Linked DNA regions of Homo sapiens: region 1 is linked to region 2. Evidence: promoter capture Hi-C in 16 types of primary human blood cells and fetal thymus (Javierre and others, 2016). All regions are on one chromosome and are shown on one strand. Each heading gives the region's core, a stretch centred on a gene start or on the middle of the fragment in contact. The rest is flanking DNA. Distances are from core to core; before and after follow the strand shown. Region 1 has its middle 3.6 kb from the start of NAA30. Region 2 holds the start of ACTR10 (actin related protein 10).

Region 1 (3,166 bases), core at 474-2,973, 810 kb after region 2:
AAGTGTAACCTGGGTAGTCAGCCAATGAAACAATGATCTGTTCAAATCATGGTGGAAAAACTGGCCCAAGAGGCACCAGATAATTCCATAAGAGATGTTTAAGGGTGAATTTTACTTAGAAAAATACCTCTCAGTAATTTACTTTTAAATGTAAGCCCTTCCTAAAAAGCATGTACCTTCACTGTAGTGAATGAATGGCAGCAGGCCTTCCTGTTCTTTCTGTGTTGCAACTTGGCATTGAGCTCTGTCACACTGAGGAGCTGACCAGATGTTGTCTCAAAGTGGTTTTCAGAAAGTCAAGAGTTGTAAGGACCTTCTTGAGGCCAGGGAGTAAATGTTAGTCACTTTGTATTCACATATCAAACACATAAAAGGGAAATTGTTAAGCTTTTTGACTGAAGTACACCAGTCTCTCATTCAGTAACCTAGAATGCTTATAATGACAAAGTAAATTCTGACCTCCTCAATAACTAGTGGGGTAATTCTAATGTCTCAGCCCCAGTGATTTTTCTTTATATCCCAGTATTAAAATTACAATGTTGGCCTTCTAAATCAGATGACATCTCTAAAAAAAATTGCCTTTATAACTTATGAAATCTTTTCTATTTGATTCATGTTTACTTGATAGGATGATAGCACTATTTTAGGCATAGAAATAGGATTAGTTCACTCTAATGCTTTAGACATATTTACTATTATGAGACTCTGAAAAAACAACTACCTCCATGAGCAATACTTCATAGGAAAGAATGGGCTCAGAGCAAGGTGAGTGTAGCAGTGATACTCTTCTGTGTGGTTAGTTGATATTTTCATTGTTTTGTAATATCCTATGAAGCAACAGCCATTTTTTCTTTTCTTTTTTTTTCTTTTTTTTTTTTTTTTACTATTGTTGTTCTCTTTTGAGGAAGAAGAGAACATGCCTTAATTTTTTAGAAGAAAAAAAAGCTTCTCATTAAATCAATTAAAATAACCAATAGCAATTTTAAAACAACATCCTGAAGCAATTTATTGAAATCAGCTTGGAAGGAGAAAAATTTCTATTTAATTCTTTCTAACAGTGAGGCATTTTTCTCTTATTGGCTAGGTTTAGAGAGAAAACCTAGCTGTGTACCTACCTGAAAGGTAACTGTGGGAATGAATAATGGAAAGATGCTTTAAGTTCCCTTGACACAGCAGGATGACATTGTTATGTGCCATAGGCACACATACTAAATAATTTAAATATTTGTGTAGTTTTATTTTACATGTCATGTGGTTCTTAATCCCACTAATCCTATCTATTATACATAAAGCCCTGAAAATGAATGTCCTTAACTTTGTTTCATCTTGAATGAAAGAAAGAACATACATCAAATTTGAGAGCTGAAGAACTTAACCAAAGGATGAATATTAGTATATTGTTGTATTACCTGTAATCTTAGAACACTCTGAGATGCCCAGGTAAAAGACTAACAATTTGATTCTTCCCTTCGAATTTGGGGAATGACAGTCTGTTCTTTAAACTTCTTTCCCCTTGCCAGTAGTGGATGGCAGTACCAATTGTAGGTAGGCATCAATTTTGTTTGTAGAACTGAGGCCTCAGAGGACTATGAAGAACCAGAGAGGGTTGTGGTCAAATGGTCCCCATTTCCATTATTTTCAACCTCACACTAACTCTTCATGACCTGCCTGAAGACATGGTCAGGGTGATTCTCACAGATACACCTGGGCTGGTGAGACATGTTGGAGAGAATCATATATTCCTACATATTAGAGCCAAAAAATTTTTGGTCTCTAATTTAGCTATGCCTTCAGCTGTCTAGAATTGTTTTAACCTGTCTCCAAGGCCAGCTTCATCCAACAGCAACTGTCCTCAACCACTACTTGCTTCACACTCTCAGCAGATAACCCTGCCTCCATTTCACTAAGAAAAGTGAACTATTTCATAGGTGTGCCTTCTACTGCCATACCTATAAGTTCATCTGTATCTGAACTTACCCTTACCTCCTCCCTCCCAGTCTTAAGAGGGTGGAAGATGGATCAATTCTTCATGACTAATACCTCCCTCTACCTGTGGGCTTGATGCTTTCTCTTTCAGGCTCCTTTAGAACCTGTCCCATCATTGTTTCTCTCTCCTGAATTTTCCATGTTACCTTTGCTAGCTACTGCCTCAAAGTTTATAAACATGCCCCATTTAGAGATTTCTCCCACTACCATCCTTTTCCTGCCTCCTTTTCACCACAAACTCCTAATCTGCAATAGGTATCCACTGTCTCTACTCAGGTGCAGGTTCACTCTTCATTGGTGGGTTGGCTTCAATCTCAGCCCTTCTTCAAACAACACTCTGGCAAAAAATCACCTGTTATGTCCTAACTAGACTCTTCCAGTTCTCACATCACTTTATTCCATCGTGGCATTTCATCCTGCTGTGTCCTTCCAGAAACTCTTCCCTTGGCTTCTCCACTCTCTCTTGCCCTCCTTTGGACATTCTTTCTCAGTTGTTCTTGATAATAGAAGCTTTTAATAATAACAATAGCTACCATTTATTGTGGTCTTCCCATGTATTAAGCATGTTATAAATAATAGCTCATTTAGTTCTTATGATAACCCTATGAATTGGTGGTCAGAAGCCAGACCAGAATTGGATCACTGGCCTATTCCTGAGCCAGACACTGGAAAGGGGCTGGATTTACTCTTATGTCAATCAGGCCTGTCTGAGATTGAGTATGAGGTGAGCTTCTCCTGATGTATGTGGCTGGGGGATGAAGGAGTATCTAAGTAAAATTGGAGTTCAGATCCTGGCTCTGCCAATTACTGGCTGTGTGGTGTTGACAACTTAATGTGTCTGGGCTTCAGATTCCTCATATCGGATATGGATAATATTACATGCCTTGTAGGGTTTTGGAAGGGTAAAATGAATTATTATATGTAAAGTGTTTAATACAGAGAATATAGGAAGCCCCCGTAAATGTTAGCTGATCTCCCATCCCACCCATCCATCCTCAACATTTCTACCACTGCCACCCTTACAAAATACAAACCTATTTTGTCACTCCCTGGCTTAAATCTCTTCAGAGACTCCCATAGCCTAATAATCAAATCTAAACTTTGGTTAGGGTGCTTTGGCCACAAGCTCAATCTGGCTTTAAAAAAAAATAAGGAAATGAGACAGTCAGAGGCAGAGCGA
Region 2 (3,435 bases), core at 565-3,064:
GGCACAAACTCAGATCACTGCAGCCTCCGCTTCCCAGGCTCAAGCGATCCTCCCCCCTTGGCCTCCCAAAGTGCTAGGATTTCGGGCACGACACTACCGCCGGCTAAATTTTGTATTTTGTGTAGAGCTGGGTTTCCCCATGTTGCCCAGGCTGGTCTTGAACTACTGGGCTCAAGTGGTCAGCCCGCCTCAGCTTTCCAAACTGCTGGAATTACAGTATTATTTTTAAAACCACATATTTCATTATTTTAAAAACGATGCTCTTTTCTTGAGTATTTAGGTATTTCCATTTTTGTTTCATGTTAGTAAAACAAAAATTTGCTAAAAACGTTGCTAAAAATGATCATCATACTAGTTTAGTCTTAACATCCTGTCTTCTTGTCCTGTCTAGTTTTTGATACTGCTCTCCTCGTATTCCCAAATAATTCTCTCCATCTCCTCCTATTCCCGTCTCCATGTTTACTTGCATCAGTGCTCCTCAAACATCTCAGAATGCAAGCCATTAGACTTCAATTCCTTTTTTTTACTTCATACATTTATCTTATCATCCTCCTGCTGTCTTTTTCAAATATAGCTTTTTGCTTATTTCTTCCAAGTACAGCCAAAATAATTATCTTTGACTAGAAGCCTCGAACTGTTTATTACGCTTTCAAAATAATTTTAATAAGAAAATATAAATAAGGAAGGGCCTCGCATAGAACAATAAGAGAATGTCATTAACCAAGGACTATGTTTAATCCAATTCTGGAGTTCCTGGGGTCCAATTTTTAAATAGGCTCTTTTAACCACTTAGTCAATAAATAGTTATTAAATACCTACTACACGTCAGGAAGTGCCTAGAGATATAAAAAGATTTTTCAAATGTTTCATTTTCATAAATACATATATGATGTAATTGCCTGTTACTTCCCTCTCTGTTGAGCCCATCACAAGGACTCTTAATCTAGGGTCCCAGGACCACATTGATTGTCTGCCAATTCCCTGAAACTGTGTATAAGTACCTTAAGATTTGTGCATTTGTGGTTTTCATCCAGCCATTAAAGAGATCTATGCCATCCGAAAGGTTGAGAACCTCCTCTCTATTGTTTACAAGTTGGTTTGTTTAAAACATGTCAAATCTAACCTTCGAGTTTAGGGGAGCCAACAAAGGATTTCCAGAATCTTATCTATAGGGTTTCACCTCTTAATGTGCCCAGTCTCCCTAATTCTTGAGCAGCGATAGCCCTGTCTTAAACATCTTTCCATTTTCAGCACCAAAATAAACTCCGTTCAATATTTTATGATGAAATTCGTCATCGAGCATTTACATTCGGTTGGCTGCCTTCCTCAACTGAGGAGCCCAGGGTAAGCGGGGTCTAGGTCACGGTTGTCATCCCCTACACAGATGATCCCAAAGGGTTTGTTGGGTTTGGGGTGATGACAAGGGGCGGCGACGAGGGCAATTCAACAGAAGCTTTCTGGGCCTCTCTGGGAGTCAGACCCCGATCCTCGGATTCGCATCGCCCAGGGAGGAAATAATAAGAGCTGTTATTTGCAAGGGCGCTGGTTGAAGAAAAGGGGAGGCCCGGAGCTGCCCAGCGAGTCGGCGATGAGGACCCAGGCAGTGCCTGGGGCTCTGCCACCCGCCCTCCCCTCGGGTCGAACACAGCTGGCGTCACGGCCACTCACTTGGTAAAGGCCTCTCCCAGGTCGATCACGACCGCCGTCTTCTCCCCGCCGCTCCCCAGGCCCTCGTAGAGCGGCATGGTAGTAAGGCAGACTGAGAGAAGAGGGTCGCAGTCTCCGCGGCCAACAAGTCTCGGCGCTCGCGGGGCGGGGCCGGGGCTCCGGCGCTCGGGCGTCGGCGACGGCGGGGGCCTCGCGCGGCCGCGGCGCGCCGGGCCCGGGCTGTCCCAGGCTGTGCCTCATTCCGCGTTGGACCCACCCTTGCAGGTGCTGCCGTCGCCAGGACTAGGGGAAAAGAGGCGCTGGCGGGCGCGAATCCGAGTGCGGGGGCGCGGAGGCCGCGGCGATCAGGCGCGCCGGTCGCCCTGAGGGGGCGGAGCCGGCCTCCCTATCCTTCCCTCCCACCACGCCCCAAAGCCGCACCCACGCGCGGCTGTGAAGAGGTTCGGTCTCAGCTCACTGTGAAGAGGTCACTGAGGACCTGGCTGCCAAGGGGCAGCCGAGAGACGACGCAATTCCGAACCTTTGATTCATGCTCTTGGGGGGCAGAAGATGCTGAGACCCTATTCTGTGCTAGGCGTTTTGCCTAATATTTAATCTTCTCAAGAAATAACAAGAATATGTGTTTTCTTATCTGTGGGGACCGACGCTCAGAGAGATTAACTTTCCCAATGTCCCACGGCAGAGCCAGGAACAAACCCACAGACTTCCTAATTGCAAAGCCTATGCTAATGATGCTTTAGAGAATAATACGTACAGACAATACTTTAGTTAGTAGTCTTTCTGAAAGTTTTTATTTTACTCCAGAATTAAGCAGCTAGAGTAGCGTCTGTGAATCTTGAATCTGTCCATAGAGGAGCGGTCGGGATGGTTTAATAGAAGAAACATTGAAGCAAAGGCCCCTATTAGGTTGGTGCAAAAGTAATTGCTGTTTTTGCCACTACTTTTAACATTTACATTACTGTTTACATCTTTGTCACTTCACAGCTTTCTGTGAAAATATTTTTTTCCTGCAAATATTAGCTCTAACTGTATCTATGCATAGGAGTGGAAAAGACTGTCAAAGGAGAGGCTGTGCAATAAGAAAAGAGGTTCAAGGGTAAATCGGTGAGGACTAGCAACATTTAGCTGGTGTACTGGGTTGAATGATGCCCCCCCCCCCAAAATTCTTGTCCACTGGGAACCTCAGAATGTGACCCTATTTGGAAATAGAGTCTTGGCAGATGTAATCAAGTTAAGATGAGGTTATACTGTATTAAGATGTCCCAACTGTCCGAGCGCAGGATCACACCTGTAATCCCAGCACTTTGGGAGGCCGAAGCGGGAGGATCCCTTGAGCCCAAGAAGTCTAAAGCGGCAGTGAGTCGGGATTGTGCCGCTGCACTCCAGCCTGGGCAACAACAAGAGTGAGAGCCTGTCTCTCAAAAAAAAAAAAAAAAAAAAAAAAGGCCCTACTCTAATGGTTGGTAACTAGAGTTAGCGGGGTAGTTGGGGATAAGCTATTTCCATAACAAAAACTAAGGCTGTAACAATGCAGAAATTTGGAATGTGATATTAGTAAAATTCATGTTTAAGTCCAAATTACTGATCAATGATCCTCCTTGAAAGCAAATTCCTGGAGACAGGAGAATGAAGTTGGAGTTGTGACGGGGAAGAAAACTTTAAGAAACGTGGGAAGAGATTAAATTTTTTGCTTAATAGAGTCAGATTATTTGAATAGGACCCCTTACTTGAGTTCAGATTCTGTTTCTGCCACTTTCTGTCAAGTCC

Evidence for each region. The method cuts DNA at HindIII sites, captures the fragments that hold promoters and counts their contacts. A CHiCAGO score of 5 or more calls a contact.
Region 1: a contact is called between a fragment that was not itself captured here and the fragment with the promoter of ACTR10 in region 2, in 3 of 17 cell types (naive B cells, total CD4 T cells and M2 macrophages). The highest score is 5.7, in naive B cells.

What each region holds. Positions count from the first base shown.
Region 1 is chr14:57,385,359-57,388,524 of GRCh38, reverse strand. No RefSeq gene overlaps it. Among named protein-coding and RNA genes, the nearest start is that of NAA30, 3.6 kb to the left of the region's middle. The HindIII fragment of the contact is 1,551 bases long and covers 948-2,498 here.
Region 2 is chr14:58,198,528-58,201,962 of GRCh38, reverse strand. ACTR10 (actin related protein 10) reads right to left here and starts at 1,814. Exons shown (of 13, transcript NM_018477.3): 1 at 1,669-1,814. The coding sequence starts at 1,745. RefSeq lists enhancers at 1,432-1,621, 2,242-2,371 and a silencer at 1,782-2,171. The HindIII fragment of the contact is 4,366 bases long and covers 1,456-3,435 here.